Regions from separate parts of the Homo sapiens genome. Here regions 1 and 2 are each linked to region 3. The links are contacts of gene promoters, found by promoter capture Hi-C in human tissues and cell types (Jung and others, 2019). All regions are on one chromosome and are shown on one strand. Each heading gives the region's core, a stretch centred on a gene start or on the middle of the fragment in contact. The rest is flanking DNA. Distances are from core to core; before and after follow the strand shown.

Region 1 (4,787 bases), core at 1,875-4,374, 92 kb before region 3:
TGCTGATGAGGTAGTGATATGGTTTGGCTGTGTCCCCACCCAAATCTCATCTTGAATTGTATCCTTCACAATTTCCACAATTTCAATCTGTTGTGGGAGTGAACCAGTGGGAGGTAATTGAATCATGGGAGCAGGTCTTTCTCATGCTATTCTCGTGATAGTAAGTCTCACAAGATCTGATGGTTTTTAAAAAGGGGGGCGGGTTTCCCTGCATAAGCTCTCTTTCTTTTTGCCTGCCACCATCCACGTAAGATGTGATTCGGTCCTCCTTGCCTTCCACCATGATTGTGAGGCCTCCCCGGCCATGTGGAACTGTAAGTCCATTAAACCTCTTTCTTTTTTAAATTGCCCAGTCTTGGGTATATCTTTATCAGCAGCATGAAAATAGACTAGTACAGGTAGGCGGAAGCAGACCATGAGGGGCTGCGGAGGCTTTGATAAGTCTGTTATTTCTTATATTGAGGGCAAAGTTGAACCCTACAGGGTTTTAGTAGTAGAAGAATGTGTGTGTACGTTAAAGAAATGGAGTGATATGATCAGTTTTGCCATTTAACAACATAGGTCATCAGTCAGTATGGCTAGGTTATGCTCTGTAATAAACAAACCCAAAACCTTAATAGCTTATAACACGAAGTACTTATTCTTTACCCATACTACATGTCCACACAGATCAGCAAGAAGCTTTGTGTGCTGCATTCACACGGTGTCTTGGTCTATTTGCACTGCTATAACAAAATATCATAGACTGGGTGGCTTATAAACAACAGAAGTTTATTTCTCACAGTCTAGAGGCTGGGGAATCCAAGATCAAGGCATGGCAGATTCAACGTCTTGTGAGGGCTTGCTTCCTGGTTCATAGATAGCCATCTTCTTGCTGTGTCCTCACATGGTGAAAGAGACGAGGGGTCTGTACAGGGCCTCTCTTATAAGGACACTAATCCCATTCGTGAGGTTTCCACCCTCAAGATCTGATCACCTCTCAAAGGCCCCCACCTCCTAACACCATCACATTGGGGATTAGGTTTCAATGTAAGAATTTTGGGGGAATACAGACATCCAGATGACAGCACTCAGGACCCCAGCTGACAGAGGCTCCATCTCATCTACTATACATTTTCCTTCTTTGGTTATTGTCAGTCTCTTCCCTTAAGAAGTAGCATATTTGCCTGTTTGGCTCATTCTCTTATCCCCAGTGTCTGGCACAGTGTCAGTATTCAATAATATCTTTTGAATACATGAATCTTGTTCACTTTGATCAGTCACATTCATCTGTCAACCCCCACAGCAAGCCAAGCTCTTCTCTTCCCTTCTTTGGAAATGTTCTTCACCAGCTCTTTGTGAAACCACTGTGGTTCATTTTTCCAATCTCAGCTTAGATTTTTCCTCCACAGAGAAGCTTTCTTGTACTAGCTTTGTGATGGTTCATTTGCATGTCCATTTGACTGCGACATGGGGTGCCCAGATATTTCATCAAACATTATCTTGAGTGTGTCAGTGAAGGTGTTTGGAAATGAGATTAACATTTGAATTGGCAGACTGACTCCCTATGTGGGTGGCCCTCTTCCAATCAGCTAAAGGTCTGAAGAGAACTAAAGGCTGACCCTTCCTCTAGTAGAAGGGAACTCCTCCTGCCTGACTGCCTTGAGCCAGGACATCAGCCCTCTTTGGACTCAGCTTTGAAATGTCAGCTCTTCTTGGGTCTCGAGCCTGTAGGCTTTCAGATTGGACCTACTCCAGCAGCTCTCCTGGCTCTCCAACTTGCCAACTGCAGACCTTGGGATGTCTTAGTCTCCTGAATACATGAATCAATTCCTTATAATAAATCTCTTTTTATATAGATCTACATTCTATTGACTCTGTTTCTCTGGAGAATGCTGACAAATACAATCTCACAGCAGACACCCCCACCCATCTCCCCTCTATCCTTACTGTTTCAATCCACAGACTGCAAGCACCTGCTTCTCTTTGCTGTAGGGCATTCTCTTGTAGTGAGAACCCCTTCTGCCCTGCACAGCAGGTGAGAAATGTCTGGGATTAAAGTACTCTGAGAGCAGCTCTTACCTGGTGACTGATGGGCATGGGTGGGCCAATATCCCAAGTCTCTTAAACAAAGGGTAGGATGATTTTAAGACATGTTATGCACTGCTTACTAAAGTGTGCACATGCCCACAGTGGTACCTGCATGATGAAATCTCCTTTATTTGCTGCTTTCCCTTCCCTGTCTCACTTCTCTTCCTGCCTGTTTCCTGGGACCACATCTTAAACAAGCTATTTGCACATGGATCCTTGTCTCAGAATCTGCTTGTAAGGAAACCCAAACTGAGATAGAATCATCAAGGAGGTCCATACACATCGTTTTCTTTATTTTTAATTTTAGATTCAGGGGTACATGTGTTTGTTTGTTACATGGGTATCAGACGCATAATGACAGGGGTTGGGCTTCTAGTGTACCCATCATCCATATATTGGATGTTCTACCCAATAGATAATTTTTCAACCCTTCCCAACCCCTTTTGAAGTCTCCAGAGTCTATTCTCTCCATCTTTATGTCCATGTGTAGCCTTCATTTAGCTCCCACTTATAAGTGAGAACATGTAATATTTAATTTTCTGTTTCTGTGTTAGTTCACTTAGGATAACAGCCTCCAGCTCCATCTATGTGGCTGCAAAGGACACGATGTTTTCCTTTTTATGGCTGTATACTATTCCATTGCACACACACACACCACAATTTCTTTATCTGATTAACTGCTGATGGACACTTAGATTGGTTCTGTGACTCTGCTATTATAAATAGTGTTGCACTAAACATACAAGTGCAGGTGTCTTTTTTGTGTAATAATTTATTTTCCTTTGAGCAGATACCCAGTAGTGGAGTTGTTGAGTCAAATGGTCATTCTCTTTTTAGTTCTTTGAGAAATCTTTATACTGTTTCCCATAAGGGCTGAACTAATTTGAATTCCCATCAACAGTGTATGAGCATTTGCCTTTCTCCACGTCCACATCAACATCTGTTGTTTTTGACTTTTTAATAAAAGCCATGCTGACTGATGTAAGATGATATCTCAATGTGGTCTTAATTTGTATTTCTCTGATGATTGGTGATGTTAAGCATTTTTATGTGTTTGTGGAAGCTTATATTTCTTTTTTTTTTCAAAAATGTATTTTCATGTCTTTTGCCCAGCTTTTAATGGTGTTGTTTATTTTATTCCTCTTGAGTTGCTTGAGTTCCTTATAGATTCTGGATATTAATCCTTTGTTGAGGGCATAACTTGTAAATATTTTCTCCCATTCTGTAGGCTGTCTGTTTATTCTGTTGATTATTTCTTTTGCTATGCATAAGCTTTTTAGTTTAATTAAGTCCCATTTGTCTATTTTTTTGTTTTGTCACATTTACTTTTGAGGTCTTTGTCATAAATTATTTGCCTAGGCTGATGTCCAGAAGAGCATTTCCCTAGGTTTTCTTCTAGGACTTAATATAGTTTCAGGTCTTACATTTAGGTCTTTAATCCATGTTGAGTTAACTTTTGTATATGGTAAGAGATAGGGGTCCAGCCTCTCTCTTCCACTTAATGGTCAGCCAGTTTTCCCAGCACCATTTATTGAATAGGATGTCTTTTTCCCATTTTTTATTTTTGTCAACTTTGCCCAAGACAAGTTGGTTGCAGGTATGTGGCTTTATTTCTGAGTTCTCCATTCCATTGATACATGTGTCTATCTTTGTGCCAGTACCATGATGTTTTAGTTACCATGGCCTGGTAGTATAATTTGAAATCAAGCAATGTGATGTCTCTAGATTTGTTCATTTTGCTCAGGAGTGCTTTGGTCATTTGCGCTTTTTTTTTTTTTTTTTTGGTTCCATATGAATTTTAGGATTTTTTTTTCTAATTTTGTGAAAAATGACATTGGTAATTTAATAGGAGCTGCATTTCATGTGTATATCACTTTGAGCTATATGGTCATTTTAATGATATTGATCCTTCCAATTCATGAGCATAGGATGTTTTTCCATTTGTTTGCATTGTCTACAATTTCTTTCATCAGTGTTTTGTAGTTCTCCTTATAGAGCTCTTTCACCTCCTTGATTAAATGTATTCCCAGGTTTTTTTTTTCTGTGGCTATTGTAAACGGGATTGGTTCTCGGTATGAATGTTATTGATATACAGAAATGGGCTACTGATTTTCATACATTAATTTTGTATCCTGAGACTTTACTGAAGTTGCTAATCAGGTTTAGGAGTCTTCTAGAGGAGTCTTCAAGGTTTTCGAGGTATATGATCATGTTGTCAGAGAACTGAGATAATTTGACTTCATCTTTTCCAATTTGGATACCTTTTATCTCTCTCTCCTGCCTGATTGCTCTGGCTAGGACTGTTAGTACTATGTTGAATAGTGGAACTTGTCTTATTCCAGATTATAGGGAAAATGCTTTCAACTTTTCCTCATTCAACATGATGCTGGCTGTGGCTTTGCCATACATGGCTCCCATTATCCTGAGTTATGTTCCATCTATGTCTAGCCTGTTGAGGGCTCTTATCATGGAGGACTGCTGGATTTTATAAAATCCAGCTTTTTATCAATCTGCTTTTTCTGCATCTACTGAGATGATCACACGGTCCTTGCTCCTAATTCTGTTCATGTGGACATGCCTATCATTTTCTATCACAGCATTCTGTATTTTTCTTTCCTAGTACATATCATATTTGCTAATTTTTATGTATTCATTTGTTAGCTCCACTGTCTGTCTTCAGCAAGAGCATTCGTCCATGTGTGTGTCCTTTGTGACTA
Region 2 (4,260 bases), core at 1,213-3,712, 110 kb before region 3:
GCTGCAGCAGAGAGAGGTCCTATCTGTTGATGGGGAGAGAGTCAGGCCATGGATGAAAAGGAGGGTTTGGTGTTCCCTGGACAAAGGTTTAAACAAAGTTTTAAACCCAGCCCCACTATTTGAGTCAGTGTGAACCTGAGGACGTAAGTTAACTTCCAAGCCTTGATTTTCCATTTAATAAAATGGAGGTAGTGATGCCTGCATCCCCAAGTCAGGATGACGGCCATAGACAGTGACGTAGCAAAAGGGCAACTCAGTAAACAGAAGCCACTGAAGAGTGGCCACCCAATCCCCTGGTCCAGCCATGGGCCTTCAACCTAGTCACTTAACATCTCAGAATCTCAGTTTCTTCATCTGTACAATGAGCTAACATCTCTCTAAGATTTTTCTTGGAATAAGACTATTATATAATCAGCATATAATGATGGCGATTATTTCTGAGTTTGTCTCTCCTTAGTACAGAAATAATCCAGGTAACCAGATGACCCCTTAACAAAGAGCCACAGTCTTGTTCATTGCTGAATCCAGGTGCCAGGCAGGTAGTGCTGTGTTAAGTACTCACTCAAGATAATGACATATATGCATGAATGAATGACCTACATTGAGTAGTGGGAGTATGGGTAGGGAGCTCTCTGAGGGAGTGGGAAATGAGATCACCCTCTCTACAGGAAATTGTTGATGTTTACACAGAAAGGGGGCTGACCAAGCTGTGGCAGGCATCTATCATGAAAAGCTTCCATTAGTCACTCATTCAAAAAATATTTTGGGGAGAATAAATACATTTTTACTGAGTGGGTATACACTTGTTGAAATGATGACTGAGTATATGTTGCCTTCCAGGCCCTCTACTACGTACCGGGAACCAACAGTGAACAAAACACACAATGAACCTACAACAGGGGAGCTGACCTTCTGGTGCAAGGAGACAAATCTGCAATTCAATGGCAGAAAGTGGTAAATTCTGGCCAGGTACAGTGGCTCATGCCTGTAATCCCAGCACTGTGGGAGGCTGAGGCAGGTGGATCACTTGAGGTCAGGGGTTCCAGCCAGCCTAGCCAACATGGCAAAACCCCATCTCTCCTAAAAATACAAAAATTAGCCAGGAGTGGTGGTGCATGCCTGTAATCCCAGCTACTTGGGAGGCTGAGGCAGAAGAATCACCTGAACCCAGAAGGCAGAGGTTGCAGTGAGCCAAGATCACACGACTGCACTCCACTCCAGCCTGGGTAACAGAGCAAGACTCTGTCCCAAAAAAAAAAAAAAGTGGTAAATTCTATGAATGAAAGTAAATCCAGGTGTATGAATTTCCAGGTGCTGCTATAACAAATGGCCATATACTTGGTAGGTTAAATAATATCAATTTATTATCTTACAGTCCTGGAAGTCTCCCTGGGCTGAAATCCTGCTGTCAGCAGGACTGTGTTTCTTCTGGAAGATCTTGGGGAAAATCTGTCTGCTTGTCTTTTCAGCTTCCAGAGGTGTCACATTCCTCAGCTTGTGATCCCATATTACTGCGACTTCTGCTTTGGTTGTCACATCTTCTCTCACCCTTATGCATCCCCTTTTATTTATTTTTTATTTTAGGTTCCGGGTGCAAGTTCAGGTTTGTTACTTAGGTAAACTGCATGTCACAGGGCATTGGTGTATAGATTATGTCATCACCCAGGTAGTAAGCATAGTTCCTAATAGGTAGCTTTTTGATCCTCTCCCTCCACCCAGTGTTTGTTGTTCCCCTCTTTATGTCCATGTGTTTTTATTGTTCAGCTCCCACTTATAAGTGATACCCAAAGAAATATAAATCATACTATAAAGACATATGCACACAAATGTCCACTGCAGCACTATTCACAATAGCAAAGACCTAGAACCAACCTAAATGTCTATCAACAATAGACTGGATAAAGAAAATATGGTACATATACACCAAGGAATACTACACAGCCATAAAAAGAGGAAGATCATGTTCTTTGCAGCAAGATGGATGGAGCTGGAGGCCATTACCCCATGCAAACTAACACAGGAACAGAAAACCAAATGCCTCCCTCTTATGAGGACTCTGATTACATTAAAGGCTACCTGTACAATCCAGGATGCTCTCCCCCATCTCAAATCCTTCAGTTAATCTCATCTAAAAAGTCCCTTTTGCCATGTAATGTATACAGATTCCAACATTTAAGACACAGTTATATTTGAGGAGCAGTTATTCTTCCTTCTACATCAGGTAAGGTGATAGTGATTGTGTTGGGGGCAGGAGCTGCAATTTTAGACAGGGTGGTCAGGGCAAGCCTTTCTAAAAAGAGGATAATAGAGCAGATCCATAAATAAAGTGACAGAAGATGCCATGCTGATATGAGGAGGATGGTTATTTCAGGCAGAGAGAACAGCATGTGCAAAGGCCCTTGGCAAAAAACATGCATGACAGTCCCCAGGAGCAGCAGGCAGGCAAGGATGGCTGGACTGCTGTGTAGGAAGGAGAGAAAGTGGGAAAGCCAGGGTCAGAGGAGAGGTCATGAGCTGGCCATGCAGGGCTTCACAGGCTGGGGTAAGGGCTCTAGGAAGTTTTTCAAACATGATGAGAAAGTACTACAGGGTTCTGAGGAGGAGAACGAAAAATATGGTCTGTTGATGTTTGTTTAAGCTGTTTGGAAATATTCAAACTTCAATCAAAGCATCTTAGATGTAATCAGGTGGAGATAAAATTGCCACATGACGGTAACTAGGGAAGCAGGATCTCAGTGATTGTACAGCGATCTCAGCCTGCCTGACGAAAGCTGATTGAAAAGATGGGGTGAGTGGTCAGACATCAGCCTGGAAAAGGGGGAGGCAGAGCAAGCCCTTAGTGCTGGTGCAGCCTGTGCACACGTGGGAAGCAGTGAAAGGGGCATTCTCATTACTGGATTTAGGTCTGTTCTCCTCAAATTTTCTGAGTTCCCTGATAGGAGTAGAGGACTTCAGATGTGATGGCTCTGCTCCCAAGGATCCTCTGCCTAGCAGAGGCATGCCCAGGTCCTGGCAGACATCAAAAGGGGGTGACGGGTGCAGCGGCAGAGTCAGGCACAAGGTCAGGGAGAAGAATCCACTCCATCCTCTTGGGACCATCAGGGAAAGTTTTGAAAAGCACAAGACACTGAGCATATACATGAGGAATAACAAAAATTTCCCAGGGGATGAGAAGAAGAAAGGATTTCAGGAAAATCTTCAACAGTGGCATGAAATAGCAAGATGAGTTCCAGGAACAGCAAGACAGAAGTATGAGTGGAAGGGATGAGTGGGGCAGGGTGGAGGAAGGATTAACCCACTGGATTGGTAGACATTTCCTCAGGCAGGAATGGGTCAGGCCTCAGCAGCGCCTTAAAAAACCATTGCTCAAGCGGCCTCACCTCCCTTTGTTTACCAAGTTGCTCTCCAATGCCTGATTTGGCCTCCCAGGGACTTCAGGTTTTGGAAAGGGGTTATTTTGGACAACAGATTAGACCACTGCAGTTCTCAGGAAGGTGTCCTCTTGGTGTGAACCTATTGGTTCCAGGGTGCTGAGTTTGTTCACAGGTCCAAGGCCAAGAGATTACTTTCTTTGCCTTTTGCCTACCTTCTCAAAGCCGACAGCCCAAGCCCGGTTTGGATTCTTCAGTAGCATGGCATTGTGCATGAAATAAGATCCATGCTCCTCACCATGGCCTAGAAGAACCCAGTCACCCCTCCCGCCAAACCTCCCCACCGTCACTCTCCTTGCTCTCACCACAGTGTGTTTCAGCCACCCATGGCTCCTGGCTGTGCCTCACAGCCCAGGCACTCTACTATCATAGAGCCTTTGCCCTGCTGTCCCTCTGCCTGGAACGCCTGGTCATGGTGCCCCAGTGCTGACTCCTTCCCATCCCCCAGGCCTCCCCCCGCCGGAGAAGGTGAGAGGTCTTCCCTCACCACCCTATTTGGGTCACCTCCCTTGGTACTCCCTACCTCACTGCCGTTTCTTTTGTATTTTTTATTTCTGTTTTAGGAATTGTCATGATCAGAAATATTTGTTGTCCTCCTACTGACTTGTTTATTGTCTGCACCTCTCCTTTGGGATGTCAACTCCTTGAGGACTGAGTTTTGCCTGTTTCATTCATTTCAGCATCCCAAGCACCTAGAACAGTGCCTGGCATATAATAGGCACTCAATAAATATTTACTGAATAAAAAAAGAAAGAACAAGTGAATGAATAAATATTGAATGGGAGAAATCCAAAGGAGTGCTGGCTGTACACATTTGCAATGAGAGGGT
Region 3 (4,672 bases), core at 522-3,021:
GGCTGGAAGGAACCTCAGACATCGCCCAGCGTGATGCTATCCTGTTTACAGACAGGGAATGGAGGCCAGGTCGAGAAGGGATTTCTCCTGGCAAATACAGTGGGGACAAGCTGGAGCCGGGCTTCATCCCTGTGGTTGATCCTCAGTCCAGCCCTGTGTCCAGGATGCCATGCTCTGGTTCACCCATCCCTGTGGGCTGCATCTTTGGTTGTTTTGTTCTGGGAATGTGGAGCTTGCCCAGGATGCTCCCCTTTCCTCCTTTGTTGGAGGAAGCTTTGGAGGCAGGAAAGTCCAGACATAGCTCCAGGGCTCCACTGCTCTTCCCAGCTTCACATCCCCCGAGGCCCTCAGTTTCCTCGCCTGGGAATTGGGAATAACCCCATTCACTTCATTGGCTGGCTGTGAGGGTCATAGCGTTCCCAATGGCAGCTGGCCTGGTGGCTGCTGGTATGTAAGTCATGTTCAGTGTTAAGGAAGAATCTTCTCCCTTTTGACAGTTCCTTCTTGCTTGTTGCCTGATCTTGGGCAGCCTGAGGACCCCAACTCATCTCTGCCTGCAAGAGTCCTGCTCCTCACCCATCCTGCCCTGTGGGATGGAAGAATGGCAGGAGGACAGGGCCTGAAGTCTCATCCCAACCCATGTGCCTCCAGCTTTGTGACCTCCAGCAAGTTGCTGGAACTCTTGAGCCTCAGTTTTCCCACCTGGAAAATGGGACTCTTTTCTGTGGCACCTACCTCACAGAGACAATTGCTGGATTTAACAGAGACAGTGCTATTAGCTCCGATCACTTGGAAACACACAATGGGCCTGGCATGAGGCTTGCTCAGTCATGCTATATCCTGTTGATTCCTCACTATGGCCTTTTGAGTGAGCCACTCTCACCAGCCTCATCTCACAGATAAGGAGATGGAGGAAACACTGAAGAAACTTGCCCAAGGTCAAAGCCAGAAGGCGGTGACCCTGCTTTGCACCCACGGCGTCTAAGTGGAGAGCCTAGACCTTTACCTGCCACTGTCTTGGGAAGTTAGCCCTGAGGGAGATGCACTTCTTGAAAACTAACCCTTCCTGAGGGTCTGCTCTCCCTCGGGGCCTGTGCTGGGAGCTTGAGGTAGAAGAGGGTGGGGGTACTCACACTCCCCACACATACGGCCGCTCAGTGAGCCCATCCTCCGGACCGAGAGACACACACGGCTTCTGAGAGGCTGGGGGCCCTGGCCCAAGGCTCACCTACCTGGTTAGCGATTGATGGACGAGGACACCGGTGGCCTGACCGCAGCTCTGCATCCCTGCTCCACTGCGGGCTGCCTGGAGGGAGGGATGCTCAGTCATCCCCTGCTAGTCCCTTTCCCTCCTGGCACTATATCCATTTTGACAAACCGTGCCATCCAAACCCAGGCCTGACTGCCCACTCCTCTCCTCTGACCCTCCCCTCCTTCCATCTCTGTCCTCCTCTTATCCCCCACCCCTCTCCATCTGCTGTTCCTGCCTTTTCAGGAAAAGTCCCTGTGCAGAAAGAAATTTCTTGCTGAAAGTGTGGGGGAGGCAAAGCCACCCTCTGTCACCCCCTCCTCCAGGCAGCCCCTCCTCTTAACCTGGGGCTTTCGTGTCTGAGAGGATTCCTGTCCCGACCCTGCCCGGTGGGCGTGCTGGCTTCCTCTCTGCCACCCTGGATGGACCGCAGCCTGCGCTGGCCCCACAGGAAGTGGAGGCGTGGAGCCGCCCTGGACCACCCCCAGCCTGCATAAAGGGGCGGTCGGCGAGGCTGCACCAGCGCCTGGCACCATGAGGACGCCTGGGCCTCTGCCCGTGCTGCTGCTGCTCCTGGCGGGAGCCCCCGCCGCGCGGCCCACTCCCCCGACCTGCTACTCCCGCATGCGGGCCCTGAGCCAGGAGATCACCCGCGACTTCAACCTCCTGCAGGTCTCGGAGCCCTCGGTGAGTCCCCCGCCCGCTCAGGACAGGGGTGCATGGCAGACCCAGTTCTTAAACCCTTGCCTTTACACGAAAAAAAAAAGAGAGAGAGAGAGAAAAGGATATTTTTCTTTTCTAGTAAATGTAAATCTCAGGAGTATTTGTGTTTTATTCATCTCCTTTTAAATATGATACCAATGGTTTGCTTTCTTCAAAACACAAGAAAAAGTAAAGACAACACAATTTTTGTGACTTACTAGCAAATATCAAAGGATCTGTTGTAAAATGTAAAAAAAAAAAAAAAAAAAAAAAAGAAAAAAGAAAAAAAAAGGAGTGGGAGGATGGGGAGAAAAACAGCTCCCCATCAGAGTTAAGGAGGACGGAGGAATGAAGCTTGTGTATTGCTTTTGTTAGCCTAGTGAGGAGTGTGCCCTAAGAGGTGGCTCACAGAACTGGCCTCCGCCCCTCATCTGCTGAGGGACCCGGGCAAATTTCTCAGCCTCTGCCTTTCAGTTTTCTTGTCTGTAAAATGGGATGACAGTAGCACCCCTCCCTTTAGAGTGGCTTTGACGATCAAAGGCAGGTGTGAACACAGGCAGGGCTCACAGAGCCAAGCCTACAGGAACAAGTACTCAACAGATGCCAGCTGATGTGAGCACGATCTTCAGAGGCAGATCTGGGGACTCAGAGAGGGGAAGACCCGGGAGGGCTTTTGGGGACTAGAACCCAGGCCTCTGCCTGCTTCTCCGTCGAAACAAAATGCATTAAACTTCATTAAAAGCTTTTGTAAAGTTTCAAAGTGTCTTTTAATCACTTGCAAATGCTTCAAACAAAACATAATGTTTCTCAGATGTTGGGGTTTACAAAAGCCTAGCTAACACCTTCTTGGTATTTTCTTTTTAAAAGTTAAATAACATGTATTTTTTCCCTAATTATAAAAGTATTGTACTTTGTAGAACAGTTGGAAAATAAAGTACAAAGAAGAAAAAAAATCTTGCTTGTAATTCTACCACCTAGAGGTAGCTGCTGCCGTAGCATTGTGGAGGATCATATTTCAGCTTTCTGTCTACATATAGGTATTCAAATACGTGTGTGTTGTGTGTGTGTGTGTGTGTAAACAAAATTTGGGTCAAACAGCACAAGCAGTTTTGCAACTTACTTTTTAATGACACTATCAAATAAGTTCATTTTTGTTTTAACATTTTGTTGTACAGTTTCACCACAATTTACCCACAAGTTTCTTGTTATCGAATATAGACAGCAATCATCTTTTAAAGGAATCTGATTTTAAAAGGTTTAAAAAGTTCAGAGGCTCTGAACCACAGAGCGGGAAGAAAGTGGAAAGATTATGCATTCTAAATCTCTAATTTCACAACTGAGGACTGAAGGAAGGCACTTGCCCATGGTCACACGGGGATTACTGAGAGGGCAGAGCACGAGGGCTTTTGCCCTTCAGCCCTGCGCAAAAACGGAAGCCCAATATAGAAATATAAAAGTATGCAAATTTATGCACTTCGATATTACTATATTATACACTATATACAACTACATATTAGCTATAGAATGCCTATAGAACAATAGGTATTATTACATATATCGTACTTATGTAAGTATATATAATGTCTATAATTACATGCAGTTATACAACTGTTATATAGCTAATATACTTATATAAGTTATTATATAAGTATATTATTATATAAGTTACTATATAACTAACTTATACAACTGTTATATAACTAAATAGTTATAGAACTGTTTTATAGATGTACATATATACTCTGTATGTATACTTGTATTACTGTATTATATATCACTATTTCTATATTACAGTTATAGGACTGCTTTTATGTATATACGTGTATGTATATTTCTGAATGGGTATGCATATAAAACAGCTCCCTGGTTCATAGCAAATGATATAAAAGTTGTATTCTAAAAGTCTAATTCCGGAAGCGCAGTCGCCCATTTCTGGAGGAGTGTGACGTATGACACAAGAAAGTACTGTGCATGTCGTAGCATCAGGGAGGGCCCCAGGGATCTGGGCTGGTCTGGCTGTTGAGAGGGCCACTAGGGAGACTTTTGTGACCAGGTATGCCCCTGTGGGCATCCCAGAACCCCTTATCCCTTTCCACAGGAGCCATGTGTGAGATACCTGCCCAGGCTGTACCTGGACATACACGTAAGAGGGTTCTCCCTGGGGGAGGGAGGTCTTGGGCTGAGGGACTCAGGTCTGAACCTCTGCTGCTGGCTGTGTGGCACAGAGTCAGGGAGAGATCTTATGCAGCTCAGTCCCTGTTCCTCTTGCTACTGACTTCTCCCACAAGCCCCCTCCCCATTGCCCACTCCCAGAATTACTGTGTGCTGGACAAGCTGCGGGACTTTGTGGCCTCGCCCCCGTGTTGGAAAGTGGCCCAGGTAGATTCCTTGAAGGACAAAGCACGGAAGCTGTACACCATCATGAACTCGTTCTGCAGGAGAGTAAGTGGATGCCATTGAAAGTCTATTTTCTACTTGCTATCAGCCAAGACTTTCTGAGCTTTTCAAAGAGGAGAGTTGGGAGGAGATGGTGACAAGGAAGAGGAGCAGAGATGTTTCGCAGATGCTTTCAGTTCACAAAGCCCTTTCTCAACCATGGTTGCCTTGTTGGGTGATGGGGTTCAGGACAAGGCCCTTTGTCTCCATGAGCTGCGCATTGATGCAGGGGCTACACCCCAGGACCACACCCCAGCCACATAGATAGACTCTGCCAGGAGCCAA

The links. Contacts are between HindIII fragments. The study calls those that stand out against the background at their distance.
Region 1: a contact is called between a fragment that was not itself captured here and the fragment with the promoter of CYTL1 in region 3, in 2 of the 25 tissues and cell types used here (IMR-90 fibroblasts and aorta).
Region 2: a fragment that was not itself captured here is called in contact with the fragment with the promoter of CYTL1 in region 3 in 2 of the 25 tissues and cell types used here (H1 embryonic stem cells and thymus).

The regions. Positions count from the first base shown.
Region 1 is chr4:5,109,339-5,114,125 of GRCh38, reverse strand. The region is part of intron 1 of STK32B (serine/threonine kinase 32B); the gene reads right to left. Among named protein-coding and RNA genes, the nearest start is that of STK32B, 60 kb to the right of the region's middle. The HindIII fragment of the contact is 4,169 bases long and covers 1,040-4,787 here.
Region 2 is chr4:5,129,801-5,134,060 of GRCh38, reverse strand. The region is part of intron 1 of STK32B (serine/threonine kinase 32B); the gene reads right to left. Among named protein-coding and RNA genes, the nearest start is that of STK32B, 80 kb to the right of the region's middle. RefSeq lists an enhancer at 1-40 and a silencer at 505-799. The HindIII fragment of the contact is 4,515 bases long and covers 205-4,260 here.
Region 3 is chr4:5,016,557-5,021,228 of GRCh38, reverse strand. CYTL1 (cytokine like 1) reads left to right here and starts at 1,771. Exons shown (of 4, transcript NM_018659.3): 1 at 1,771-1,936; 2 at 4,050-4,094; 3 at 4,265-4,393. The coding sequence starts at 1,784. It also overlaps a transcript of STK32B not described here. The HindIII fragment of the contact is 2,782 bases long and covers 1-2,499 here.